Linked DNA regions of Homo sapiens: region 2 is linked to region 1. Evidence: promoter capture Hi-C in 16 types of primary human blood cells and fetal thymus (Javierre and others, 2016). All regions are on one chromosome and are shown on one strand. Each heading gives the region's core, a stretch centred on a gene start or on the middle of the fragment in contact. The rest is flanking DNA. Distances are from core to core; before and after follow the strand shown.

Region 1 (7,460 bases), core at 4,611-7,110:
GCAGTCTCAACTTCCCAGGCTATAGCGATCCTCCTTCCTTAGTCTCCCAAGTAGCGGAGACTACAGGTGTGCACCACCATGCCTGGTTAACTTTTTTTCAATTTTTTGTAGAGATGGAGGTCTCACTATGTTGCTTAGGTTAGCCTCAAACTCCTGGGTTCAAGTGGTCCTCCTGCCTCGGCCTCCCAACATGCTGGGATTAAAGGTGTGAGCCATCGCACTTGGCCTTGTAGTCGCTTTTTAAGAATTTGATACCAATATTGAGTATAAAATATTTAAATAGTAATTTAAGTAGATGTAGTCTTATTTAAGTTTATAGTTATGATTGCCTAAATATCGACCATATTTTCAATTCATATGTTTAGTGTACTGCATTCTTATTGCTACGCCTTTCAACTTAGAAAAACTGTTCAGAGTTGGTATGAGTGTTAAAATTATTTCCTCCATCAGGAGTGCCTTAGAATCTGGGCCAGAGCCTCTCAGTATAGCCACTTCTGAAAAACCACAGTCTGATGATAATTATGAAATACTATTTTGCTCTATGATGAGACTCCTCAAGAAGTTAAGCTTAAATACAGATGAAGACAGAAGCAGTTCAATGCTGCAACCAAAACGGGGAGTAAAGATCAGGAAATGGAAATGGATTTGTAATGCTTTTTGGTATACCCATCCATTTTGAGTTGTTTGCATTTCTGTGCATCTTGCAAGCAGATGCCCTGGCAGCTTTTGTTTCAGAACATCTTTTTAAAGATGTTCATATAGTGAACAGTGTTAAAAAATATAGTATCTTCCTTCAGAGGAGACTGCAGGTTTGTTTACTGACCAGTATCGTAAGAACAATGTTTCCCTCCAGGGCAAAGATTTGGCAGTTTTCCTTGCAGCCCATTATAAAAGACTGGGCTTCCCTAAGGTTGGGATTCCTCAGCTGTGATGTAAACCCATGGTGTGTGAGGCTTCCACCTCAGCCTCTTCACGTCATCCCGAGACACCTGTGGGCAAGAAGTACTAGCATGAACAGAGCTCACGCTGCTTCCTATGCTGTGAGCTGTAAAGTCTGTTTGGCTTATGCAGGTTAGAGGAATCCTAATGAATGAGTGTGGATTACTGTAGACTTAATTAACTCCAATTACAGCTGCTTTTCCATTGGAAGTGTCTTTTTTTTTATTTTTTATTTTTTATTTTTATTTTTTAGATGGAGTCTCACTCTATCACCCAGACTGGAGTGCAGTGGCATGATCTTGGCTCACTGCAACCTCCACCTTCCAGGTTCAAGCAATTCTCCTGCCTCAGCCTTCCGAGTAGCTGGGACCACAGGTGCATGCCACCACACTTGGATAATTTTTGTATTTTTAGTAGAGAAGGGGGTTTCACCATGTTGGCCAGGCTGGTCTCAAACTCCTGACCTCAAATGATCCACCCGCCTCGGCCTCCCAAAGGGCTAAATTATAGGTGTGAGCCACCTCACCTGGCCTGAAGTGTCTTTACTGGAATGAATTTCTACAGTCCCCAGCAAATGTTATTCTGCTGTTAATCTGGAATGTACTTTTTCCTCTCCATAACAGTCTGCGAAAACCACCAAAAGCAGTTTGCTTTTATCTATCAGGATCTATAGCACACATTCAAGCTATTGCCTTAGGTTCAGATCAATTTTCTTGCTCTTTGCCACAAGATTGGCAGAGATTTTTGAGTGTCTTAACATGTCATAGAACATCACACTAGTCCACTATATTGATGATATCCTGCTGAGTCGACCTCATGAACAGGAAGAAGCAAGTTCCTTAGATACTTTAGAAAGATGCAGGTGAGCTAGTGGTAGAGAAAAACCTCACTCCAGGTACCAAGCAATATGTCATTCAGCATCCAATCAGGAAAACAGAACTAATTCCAGGTATTCAACAGCAAGAATTTTAACAGCTGATCCTTGAACAACATTAAGATTAGGGGGACCGACGTCCTGCATGGTAGAAAACCCAACTGTAGACTCCCCAAAGACATAACTATTAATAGCCTACTGTTGGAAGTCTTACCAATAACATAAACATCAATTAACACATATTTTGTGTGATATATATTATGTACTGTATTCTTACAATAAAGTAAGCTAGAGAAAAGAAAATGTTATTAAGAAAATCATAAAGAAGCGAAAATATATTAACTATTCATTAAGTGGAAGTGGATCGTCAGAAAGGTCTTCATCCTTGTCTTCACACTGAGTAGGCTGAGGAGACGGAGGAAGAGGAGGGATTGGTCCTGCTGTCTTGGGGTTGGCAGAGGTGGAAGAAAATCCACATATTAGTGGGCCCGTGCAGTTCCAAATCCTGTGGTTCAAACCTGCATCGGCTTTATAAGGAACTGGTGGTGTTGAAGAACCGAAAAACTAAAATGGGACCATCAAATTAACACAGAGCTAGACACTTCAGGAAGCAATTACCACCCCCAGGGAAGAAGTTGAAGTTATAAGAACGTAAGAGTTGGAGGCTTAAGAGCCTCAAGACTTAGACTTGAGGATGGGGCGTACACAGCTGGTGCTAATACTTCAGGAGCTCACATGAGCTGTCCGAGAGTAAAATTGGGTCTCAGACTTCCAAGGAGGGCCACTTCTTGGTGGTTGCTAAAACCTCGGAGAGAATATGATGAAACTTGCACCAGGAGTGCTAAACAAACAAACCAACCAACCAACCATACTGGAGACTGGAACCAATTGCCCCGGCCAGGTGAAGCTTTGTTGCCATGGTTACACAGGGGCTTGAACAGCAAGCAGAGAAATAGCAAATCCCTGCTCCCCACCTCCTGGCCACTCTCTCACTCCCCATATTGGCAGAATTTACCATCCACCCAGCAAAGGAGAAAATGCCGCAGCGTTCCAACTCCGGCATCACAGAACTGAGAACAGAGAAGGGAGTGTTTCTAACAGGGATGTATTTGCTTAACAATTGGCACACTGATTACAGGAAGATTTCCAACTCTTTAGCAAAACTGTTTACAATTAAGCCCCAATCTAGCTGGGCGTGGTGGCTCATGCCTGTAATTGCTGCACTTTGGAAGGCCAAGGCTGGAGGATTGATTCCTCAAGCCCACAAGTTCAAGACCCGTCTTTATAAAAAATTTAAAAACTGACCAATCATTGTGGTTTGCACCTGTAGTCCCAGCTACTTGGGAGGCTGAGATGAGAGGCTGGGGTGGGAGGTTCACTTGAGTCCAGGAGGTCAAGGCTGCAGTGAGCCCTGAGCACGCCACCGCACTCCAGCCTGCGCAACAGCATGACTCTGTCTCAAAAACAAAAACAAATAAACCCTAACCTATAGATCTAACCTACCTCTCTAGCCATTATCATCTAAACCTTTGGTTGACAATGTCTCTTTGGTTGATAATGCCTAAACACTTTCTCTAACCCTAATGGGTTCTGTTCTTTCCTAAAACTCATTTAAAAAACCCCTCATATTTCTATGCAATTGCTCCCATTAGTCACTCTGTGTGAGATTGCCCCTTCATCATCCAAATAAATTTCCAAGATCACCTTTGAAGCAATCATCTATGCTTACTGAGCACTACGTGCTGCACATTGTTTTAGGCTCTTTATAGATTTCACTTATTTAATCTCTACAGCTCTGTGGTGTATCCTATTTATTTCCATATTTTACAAATACAAATGTTAAATAACTTGCCCAAAGTCATATAGCTAATAAAAGGTAGTGTGAACCCAGAAACTCTGAGACAGGTCTCAGTTAATTTAGAAAGTTTATTTTGCCAAGGTTGAGGATGAGCACCCGTGACACAGCCTTAGGAGGTCCTGACATGTGCCCAAGGTGGTCAGGGCAGTTTGGTTTTATACATTTTAGGGAGACATGAGACTTCAGTCGACATGTGGAAGATGAACATTGATTTGGTCTGGAAAAGGTGGGACAACTAGAAGCAAAGGCAGGACAACTCAAGCAGGGAGGGGGCTTCCAGGTCATAGGTAGATGGGAGACAAATGGTTGCATTCTGTTGAGTTTCTGATGAGCCTTTCCAGAGTAGGCAATCAGGTATGCATTTAGCTCAGTGAGCTAAGCGGTGACTTTGAATAGAATAGGAGGCAGGTTTGCCCTAAGCAGTTCCCACTTTGACTTTTCCCTTTAGCTTAGTGATTTGGGGGAGGTGGGGGGGGTCCCAAGATTTAATTTCCTTTCACAGTAGAAATGGCTATTCAAAGCTTTCATCTTAAAAATCAGCTTAAAATACCACCTTCTAAGATCCAAATTAATGGTCATCTCTTTTGAGAGGACTTCTTACACTCTCCCAGGCCAAAGTATTTGCTTCCTTTCTGGTGCTAACATATTTTTACCATGGCAGAGCTTTTCAGTGTATGTAATCTTTTCACTGATATTTCTATCTCTGAATCTCTTATAAATGATCTGCCGCACAGAGCTGTCCAATCGAAATTCCTGTAGTGATGGAACAGTGCTGTGTCTGTCCTACCCAACATGGCAGCCACTAGCTACATATGGCTATTGAGCAGGTAAAATGTAGCCAGTGGAACTGAGTTTATTTAAATTTAAGTTTAAATAGCCACATGTGGCTAGTGGCTACCATATTGGATGGTAAAGATCTAGCACATACTCCAGGATAGTTCCTCAGAAAAGGTTTACAGAATGAATGAATCATTCATTAAAACTTTTTTAGCCTAACAGAAAACACTTACATAGCTTCAGTTTTGGTTTTCTTTTTTAACCACATACAGAATACACTGGTTTACTTTATTAATAAGCATGTATATGAATAAACATTAAAAATATTACATAGTATCATTATCAAGATCTATCCCATATTTTACCATGTGTATGTATCCACAGGGCCTGTCACCTGGCTCTCTGCAGCCTCAAGTTCCTGAGCTCAAGCAATCCTCCCACCTCAGCATCTGGAGTACTTGAGAGTACAGGTGTGCACCACCACACCCAGCTATTTTGTTTGTTTGTTTGTTTTGTAGCGAAAGTCTCTCCACCTTGTGTTGCCCAGGCTGGTCTTGAACTCCTGAGCTCAAACGATCCTCCCGCCTCCACCACCCAAAGTGCTGGGATTACAGGCATGACCCACTGTGCCCTGCCAAGCAAAAAAAAACAAAAAACAAAAAACAAAAAACAAAAAACTGTGGCTGTAAAAATTTTTAATGGATTTTAATAATTAAGCTTACATATTTATAATTGCCTATGCCAACTTTGCAGTTGTTTTCATTGTGTTCAGATAGATCCCAAGTGACTAGATGAATGCGTGGCACATAATATGGACTCAATACATATTTGTTGAATTAATGAAGGAATTATGCCTACTAGGAGATTTTAATTAAGTGTGAAAATCTAACCTACACATCGTTTTCAAATATTAATGTTTACAAATACTTAATGCAATAATTAAGGAAATAGTTATGTTAAATTTTGTGGACATTCATTTCCATTTCAAAGATTTTTTTCCCCCATCTCTTCCAATTCCCAAACAAAAACTGTCCTTGGCCTCTGGAGTCTTCTCACACCACTCCTCAAACTAGACGACTGAAAATAGGCCTTTGGCTGGGCAGAAACCAACAATATTTAAAATACAAAACTTATGAACGATGACATAAGAAAAAAAAAGCTCTAAATAGGTTAACAGTGAGGCCAACTAAATCTGAGACTGAAAGCGCTCCCCAGACCGCAGCCACACCACTGGGACCCCAGCTTTGCCTCCCTCGATACCCGGCCCCGCGGTCCAAAATCTGAGTAAAGCGGAAGTACGGGCGGCTGCTGCGGCGCTTGCGCAGGCGCTGAGGTCTCGCCCCATAAGACTCCGCCCCGCCCCACGAGACCGCGCCGCCAGCAATAAGGCCCAGCCCCGCCTTCTGCTGTTGCCGCAGCAACCCAGAAAGCGTCATGGCTGCCGCCGGCCAGGAAAAAGGGTATTTGACACAGACTGCGGCAGCCCTAGACAAGTCACCGTCACTTTCGCCACAGCTAGCAGCTCCCATCCGAGGGAGGCCTAAGAAGTGTCTGGTCTATCCGCATGCGCCGAAGAGCTCCCGCTTGTCTCGTTCCGTTCTGCGTTGGCTTCAGGGTCTGGATCTCAGCTTCTTCCCCAGGAACATCAACAGGTGCTTGAGTAAGCCAGTCCTAGGCCCCCCCGGTGGGCGCCCCGCCTGCTTTCCGCCGCCTGCCAGGCCTCAGATTGCCTACCCTGGCCTGGCTTATGTTTCAAATCAAGACCCCCCCACCCACGTACACACACGAAAACACTATTAGGGAACAAGGCTTTAACAAAATACCACGATACATCTTGTTTATTCAATTAATCAACCAATCATTAAATTGTGGACAATATAGAATGCTTTGGTGACTACAAAAATATTAAAATAGTCAAAGCTTTTTCTTTAGTGATATTGGGCATTAATACTGGTAAGGACGGCCGGGCACAGTTGCTCATGCCTGTAATCCCAGCATTTTGGGAGCCGAGGCAGGCGGATCACCTGAGGTCAGGAGTTGAGTAACAGCCTGACCAACACGGTGAAACCCCGTCTCTACTAAAAAATACAAAAAATTAGCCCAGTGTGGTGGCGGGTGCCTGTAATCCCAGCTACTGGGGAGGCTGCAGGCAGGAGAATGCTTGAACCCGGGAGGCGGAGGTTGCTGTGAGTCGAGATTATGCCGCTGCACTCCAGCCTAGGTGGCAGGGTAAGACTCTGTCTCAAAAAAAAAAAAAAAAAAAAAAAAAAAAAATACTGGTAAGGATCAGTTTACCCTTTGTCGGAGATGGCATCTAGTTTGAGAGTTACCAACAAGTTTTTAAAGTTGCTGCTTAATTGTAGGCACTTTGTATGTAACTGGCAGCTAATATTTGCTCTGGGAATGCAAACTAAATTCTATAAAAAGGCAATGAATCTTTTGCAGAACTCTGGTTTAAAGTAGTCTCTCCTTATCAGAGAGGCATAGGTTCCAAGATCCCCAGTGGATGGCAACTGTGGATACTACAGAACCCTCTGTCAGAACACATTTCTGTTTATGTCTTCCATCCACAAATTTAATGCCTTTTTAAAAATCTTAACTAAGCACTTATCACACACTGTGGCTGAAAGTTTTTCAGTTTGAGGTGTGATGCCGAAACTATCAAGAATTTCTTTTTCTTCATATTTCAGGAATATGATTCATTCCTACCATTGTAACCATTCTTACAACTTTCTATTAAGTCAAGAACTTTCATCTTTTCACCTAAAGGAATAATTTTATGGTTTCTCTCTGGCATATCTGAATCACCAGCATCACTGCTCTTGCACTTTGCACACAAGCGCACCACACTGTACAGTTGATCTGATGACTAAAAGGTGACTGATGTCTACAACGTGGAGACTCTGGACAAAGGGAGGACTCACATCCTAGGCAACACAGAGCAGGCAGGGAGGTTTCATCAGACTGCCCAGAACAGAGTACAATTTAAAAGTTACAAATTATTTCTTGAAT
Region 2 (7,205 bases), core at 4,063-6,562, 2.9 Mb after region 1:
AGTAGTTCTTAGACACAGTTGACCTAGTAAAATGTTTGAGAATTAAAACCAAACATGCTCATATTTGCAAAATGTTCTTTAAAAGTTACATGTTGAACTCAGTGAACTTTATAAGAATTTATGCAGTTTTACAGAACGTTAAGTTTTGTACTTGACGTTTCTGTTTATTAGCTAAATTGTTCCTCAGGTGTGTGTATATATATATACATATATATATATATATATATGTATATATATACACATATATACGTATATATACATATATATGTATATGGAGTCTCACTCTGTTGCCCAGGCTGGAGTGCAGTGGCACGATCCCAGCTCACTGCAACCTCCGCCTCCCGGGTTCAAGCGATTCTTCTGCCTCAGCCTCCCTGGTAGCTGGGGCTACAGCCATGTGCCACCAAGCCCAGCTAATTTATATTTTTAGTAGAGACAGGGTTTCACCATGTTGGTGAGGCTGGTCTGGAACTGACCTCAAATGATCTGCCCACCTCAGCCTCCCAAAGTGTTGGGATTAACAGGTGTGAGCCACCACGCCTGTCCCAGTATATTGTTTAACAAGTTTATTTTGGGTGAAAAATTCTCTTTAATGGGAAGAAGAGGGGCTAGAATGTGAATTCATATCTAAAAGGACAAACTGAAACAAAATTCAATAACAAGATTAAGTTTTCTGCTATTAAGTTGAGCTGTTTCAAGATAGAATACCGGATTAGGTTTTGAGTTACAGTAGTCCCTCCTTATCTGTGGGGTGTAAGACCTACAGTGGATGCCTGAAAGAGCCAAGAGTATTGAAGCCTTGTTTTTTCCTATACATACGCAACTGTGATAAAGTTTAATTTATAAATTAGGCACAGTAAGATTAACAGCAATAATGAGAACATTTATAACTAGTAAGTTTTGTGAATGTGGTCTGAAAATACTGTACTGTGGGAAAGTGAAGCCATGGTAAGGGAGGATTACTGTATATCTTCATTTTGGTCTTAAGCTTTAGAATTATGGGTAACTAAGAAGCCGTTTGAGATGGTTATATTCCATGACTAAACTTACCTGGGAATTGTATTATTTACGGGGAAGGCAGTTATTTTAAAAATGCTTGTTTAAGGAAGCAGTTGCTGTATTTGAATTAAGATAACTTTCATTAGAGATTATTAGTGAAGGTTGGCCATCTGGTTGGCTATGTGCTTATAGAATTATAGAAGTAAGCTATTTGTTGACAATTTTAGAGTTAAATTTGACAATCTTGGTTACCTACCAAACTTTAAAATAGAAGTCAGGATTTCTGTTACCCAACCATGGGAGCTTTGGTTGTCTCATATTCGGTAAGATAATTCTCTGTTAAATAGTGGGGTATTAGAACAAATGGACTTAAGTAAAATCTTCAATCATCTTTATGATTGCCCTCTATTAATTATATTCTGAGTGGGAGAGACCTCCCAAAGCCATGAAAGAATTGATAAATTGGCCTACATAAAAATAAGAAATCTTACATTCAGACTTGGGGCTTTCACTTATCATAAGATGAAAACTAATTTTCAGTGTTTCCTGGTGGTAGATGACTTAATATGCTAAAACATTTGGGGTAATCTATTTTAGATACTACCTATGTCTGAGACCCAGTTCCCTACCTCTACCAAATGCTAGCAGTATGAACTTTACCTACTTCACAGTGTTTTAATGGTCGAAGTGTTATTTTAAAGTAGTAACTACTGCATAAAGGATATCGAATAAGAGTTTCTAAAACTGAAATAGAGTAAGTAAGTTTGTTTATTTAAGAATTTCTAAATAAATTAGATCCAAGAGGCAGACCTGTTGGGTTCCTTGTCACCTTTCTTTTTGGGAGTCTGTGACTTCTTTCATTATCTTTTCCATAAAATATACTTTTAAGTTTCTAAGCTAAGAACTATTCTTTTAATCAAGAGTTCCTCCAGAATGAACTCAGGATTTGAGATGGATCCTTCCTGGCTCATGTTTGATATTCTTGTAAGTGTGGATCAAAATTCCCCAAATTCTCAATAATCAAGACCAGGTGACTTCAAGGAGTGAACATATTGGAAAGAACTAAAATGAGGGCAAGAATTAGATCTCACACCAGCCACTACTTGGAAGTGTGTTTGTGAAACCTGTTTTCTTTTTAAAAATAGATCATATCTTAATAGTTCAGAATGTAAAAGGATATGTAATAGTTTATACTCTTTCTTGATTCTGCTACCCTGTCCCAGGAGGCAACACCAACAATGCAATAATCTATCCTTTAAGAAAGACATAGGTGTAAAAAATATATATGTGTGTATATGTTACAGTGTTACATAGAAGCTTCCTATATACAAGTGTATTCATCTCATTATTTTGGAGATTGTTTTCAGTACCCCAGAGCAACAGAGCTGCCATTTTCCTTTAAATAGCTATCTGTATGGTATCCCATTGAATAGATCATAATTTAACCAGTTCCCTAAGGATAATAGGATAATTATGGGTTTTGTTTTGTTTTTGTTTTATATACATATTTTCTTTTTTTTTTCAGACGGAGTTTCGCTCTGTCACCCAGGCTGGAGTGCAGTGGCACATCTCGGCTCACTGCAAGCTCCGCCTCCCGGGTTCACGCCATTCTCCTGCTACAGCCTCCCAAGTATCTGGGACTACAGGCGCCCACCACCAAGCCTGGCTAATTTTTTCTATTTTTAGTTAGAGAACACTTGCTGGGTATGGTGGCTCACGCCTATAATCCCAGCACTTTGGGAGTGTGAGGTGGGAGGCTCACTTGAGCCCAGGAGTTTGAGACTAGTCTAGTCAACATAGACCTTGTTTCTACCAAAAATACAAAAATTAGCCGGGCATGGTGGTGCATGCCTGTGGTCCTGGCTATTTAGGAGGCTGAGGTGGATCACTTGAGCCTGGGATGTCTAGGCTATAATGAGCTGTGATCATGCCATCGCACTCCAGCCTGGGCAACAGACCAAGACTTGGTCTGAAAAAAACGAAACCATTTGATGTCACATGTGAAAAAAGACCTACAAGTGAAGTAGGTGGGCCAAAAGACATGCACATTTAAAAATGTGCTAACTATACTAGCTAAAACCTGTGCTTAATATATGCCAGAAACTGCTCTGGTGCTGTTAATGGAGCCTGCTAAACAAAACTGCTTCTCAACAATAGAAGTTGTACTACGCTATGGAGTGGACACTCCATAGCAATGAAATGTTTTGGAGTGCCTGTTTCCTCATCTCAGCAACATAATAGTTCTCAAACTTCTTAGTCTTTGTTATTCTGATATAGATAAAATGTTTTCTATTATGAGTTTCATTTTTTTTTTATGTTTAACAGCCATTTGTGGGGCTGAGTGCAGTGGCTCATGCCTGTAATCCCAGCACTTTAGGAGGCCGAAGCAGGCGGATCACTTGAGGTCAGGAGTTCAAAACCAGCCTGGCCAACATGGTGAAACCCTGTCTCTACTAAAAATACAAAAACATTAGCCGGGTGTGGTGATGGGCACCTGTAATCCCAGCCACTTGGGAGGCTGAGGCAGGAGAATCGCTTGAACCCGGGAGGCAGAGGTTTGCAGTGAGTAGAGATCACGCCACTACACTCCAGCCTGGGTGACAAGAGCAAGACTCTGTCTCAAAAAAAAAAAAAAAAAAAAAAAAGCCATTTGTATTCTTTCCTGTGGTCTTTTCTCACTGGTCTTTTTATTAATAGTTTTTGGGAATACTATATATTAAGGAAAATGACCCTTTTGACTTTATGATGCTTTTTTCATGCAGAGATTTCTTTATGTAGGCAAATTTAGCAATTCTTTCACTAAAACTTTTCTAGTGAGGTCCTTCCCACTCAAAGATCATAAAAGACTATAAAAATAATTATCCTTTGGTTTCTTTTTTTAAATTTTTGATTACATCTTTGATCCTTCTGGAATTAATTTTGGTGCAAGGACTGAGGTAGGGGCTCACGTTTCCTTCCCGATGTCAGCCACTACTTTTGGTCTTTTAATCTATAAAAGCAGGGCACTGGGTTAGAATTTCCTAAATTCTCTTATATATCAAACAAAGCACTCACTGCAAACTTGATCAATAGAGGAAAGTATGCTTTTTTTGTATTTTACCTTTTACCAGTTTCACTTACTGTAAATCATAAGGTTGTCTTACATAGTAGAAAAATAGCATTATCTTAAACCTGGCTTTTTATTACTAAATATATCACTAAAAATGCTTTACAAAGCAGTAATGATTTTATTTCTTGGGGAATAAAATCAAGAAAGCTAAAGGAGCTGCTATGCCACTGTGTAAGATCTAGTCCTTTAAAAATGAAATTTCATACCTCACCATGTTTGGATTAGTTCTTCATGAGATTCCTGTTGGAGACTGACAGTTTTAGAGAAAGGCAGAGTATTTATTGACATTAGGAAATGCCAAGACCTATAGAGACTAGCCAGGGAAAAGGACTGGATGTGGTGAAGTGAAGAACATTTTGAAAGTAAGCTCTGTGAGGGCAGTAAAATTTTCACTTTTGTATACTGCTTTGTCTCTAATGCAAGAAACAGTGTTCTAAGCATGTTTGTAAATATACAAATACCCAGGTTAAAGGGGATAGCCACTGTTTAGCTCAGTCCTGTTGCTAGATGGAAATGTGAATATAGGATTCCCAGATCTCTCAAATTTTCAAGTGGAACTAGAACTCGTGAATTCTGAATTTTAAATACAGTATTGGCAATGAATTCCAATTTTGGGGTCAAAACATGTCTATAGGTAAGATTCTGCCCAAAGGTCACCAGTTTGCCACTTCTATAAATTAAATAGTAAATATAAGTGTAATAATTTTTACTTGAGTCAGGTCCAAGGTTAATAAAAGTTTATATATGCCTTACAGCTAACCATTGTTTTTATAGGTCAGAAACCCTTCTTGCCCTGATTGGAAACTCAACTTACCCTGCAGCAAAGGTAAATAAAAATGTTTCAATTGAACTTCATTGTGCTCCTGGGCCTTTATTCTTCAAGAGTTAACAGTGCAGACTTCTGGTGATCCTCATCCTAGGTGTTACCACATCTATAGAATAGTAACTCAGGAGTGCAATAGACTGTCGCATTAAAAGGAAAGAAAAATAACTTTTCAGCATTATGTAGCACTAAATTTTGGAACTGGAAATGGCCTTTATATCATCTAGTCTTTCATTAGAAAAGCAGGACAATCAACTTGGACATTGTCCTCGGGCAGATAAGAGATAGTAAAATACCATAATCCATTCATATTTGTGTAATTCTTTGATTCTCCAAATTTTTTCCAAAAAATATTAATGGCTTATACAAAGAAAAACAAGAACAAAATATACAAAGAAAAAAACAAGGTTATGAAAGAAATTAAAAGCAAGGTAGTGAATCACGGATTTGAATAGGGCTCTGTTTTTCTTACTGGTTTTGTAACATCAGACAACTCATGTAACATTTCGGTTTCCTCATCTGTAAAATTTGAATGTTTTTGAGGATTAAGTAAAGTAATACATTTAAGACACTTATCCTGGTGGCAAGAAATAGTAAATGCTCGATAAATATTAGCTAAAAGTATATATGCCGATATACATGGGTTAATACAGATACTACGATGGAGTATTAGATAAAGTTCTAGCTCACTGCAGCCTTCACCTTCCAGACTCAAGCGATTCTTCTGCCTCAGCCTCTCAAGCAGCTGGGACCACAGATGTGTGCCACCACACATGGCTATGTTGCCCAGGCAGGTCTTAAACTCCTGGACTCAAGCAGTCCTCTCCCCTTGGCCTCCCAAAGTGCTGCGATTACAGGTGTGAGCCACTGTTCCAGCCCTGAGGTTCTTGATAGTCTAGGTAGAGAGGAAAATTAAAGAAGTTATGTGGAAAACATACATTCTTTAGGAGAGTTTTTCCTGGCACCAAATAAATATTCATCCCACAGAGTTAGAGGGATATTGAGTACTGGACTTGATTATGTCCTTGACCCCAGTACTAAATTTGTGAACTTGGACAAGTTATTTAACCTATCATGTATAAATGTATTAACATACTGTATGTTTACTTTTAGTCACTTTTGAGATTGATAAAAAGTGCTGAATAAAGTGTTTTGGGAAGTGCCTTTTTCATTCAATCCTGTACACCTAAAACTTGTTTATAACAACTAGTTTATTCATATTCATCTCTGTAATATTCCATTGTGTGATTATATCACAATTCATCCTTTCTCCTGTCAATGGGCATTTAGGTTGCTTCCAGGGTTTTCGCTATTGCAAATGGCTGTGGTATAAAAATTCCTGTATAGCTCTCCTGACACTCAAGCGTACTTCCCCTCCAATAACCTGGATTGTAGATTCTAGCTGTTTCAGCAGCCGGAAACCTCCACTCCGCCTCCTCAGTTCAGCAATACCACCATTCTGAGCCGCATTCCTTGCACCATGGTTGGGAATGTCCTCCCATGGAGACAGACATGGTGAACCTGGGATTCACCTTGTGTATTTCCTTTCTTTTAGATATCAGTCTGCTTTGACTAGTATCCAATTCCTGAAAACAGTTGCTTCATATATTTTGTCCAGCATTAACTGTTGTTTGGGGTAGCAAGATAAGTCCACTTAAAATTATAGCCGGAAGTGGAAGTCTATTCATCCCTATTTTCTATTCAAATATTTAGTTTTGTTTCGGTTAGTTAATTCTTAATACAGCTGTGGTTTATTTGCTCAAACCAAAAGCCCAAGAGAAATTTCATTTAAAGGTAATTTGAAGGATACAATATCTTAGATATTCTTCAAGATGCACTTATCACATCACAGTTTCATAATGCTCAACACTTCTTAAAGTGCTTTCACATGGAATAATTTTCACGTACCTAAACTATTGGCCTATTAGGTATCTGGCTTTCTGGTGAGGTACTTGTCATGTTTTCCATTGAATTATATATGGATTTTTTTCCCAATTATGTCCAGAAATGAAATATATTCCAAGATCCCTATGAGAAACTTAAGAAATAAAGAAACTCCCATTTATTCTAGTCTGGTGCTGTCACTTTTTCAAATTTCTTAGCCTACTTCTACAGCAGCTAAGAATTGGGAGATATGACAATAGACAGGTCAGTTGAGAGAAAGTTTCCCAAATCAATACAGCCACTTACTTGAATCTGTTAGCAACCGTATCTTCTCTTGAGATGTGTTTTGTACAAGGTGCTATGGACTATTTCTAATTTCATTGTGGTAGG

What was found. The method cuts DNA at HindIII sites, captures the fragments that hold promoters and counts their contacts. A CHiCAGO score of 5 or more calls a contact.
Region 2: a fragment that was not itself captured here is called in contact with the fragment with the promoter of SPATA4 in region 1 in 1 of 17 cell types (total CD4 T cells); the score reaches 5.9 in total CD4 T cells.

What each region holds. Positions count from the first base shown.
Region 1 is chr4:176,193,985-176,201,444 of GRCh38, reverse strand. SPATA4 (spermatogenesis associated 4) reads left to right here and starts at 5,860. Exons shown (of 6, transcript NM_144644.4): 1 at 5,860-6,100. The coding sequence starts at 5,883. The HindIII fragment of the contact is 1,203 bases long and covers 5,168-6,370 here.
Region 2 is chr4:173,324,398-173,331,602 of GRCh38, reverse strand. It overlaps HMGB2 (high mobility group box 2), which reads left to right. Exons shown (of 5, transcript NM_002129.4): 5 at 1-227. Among named protein-coding and RNA genes, the nearest start is that of HMGB2, 6.4 kb to the left of the region's middle. The HindIII fragment of the contact is 5,987 bases long and covers 2,319-7,205 here.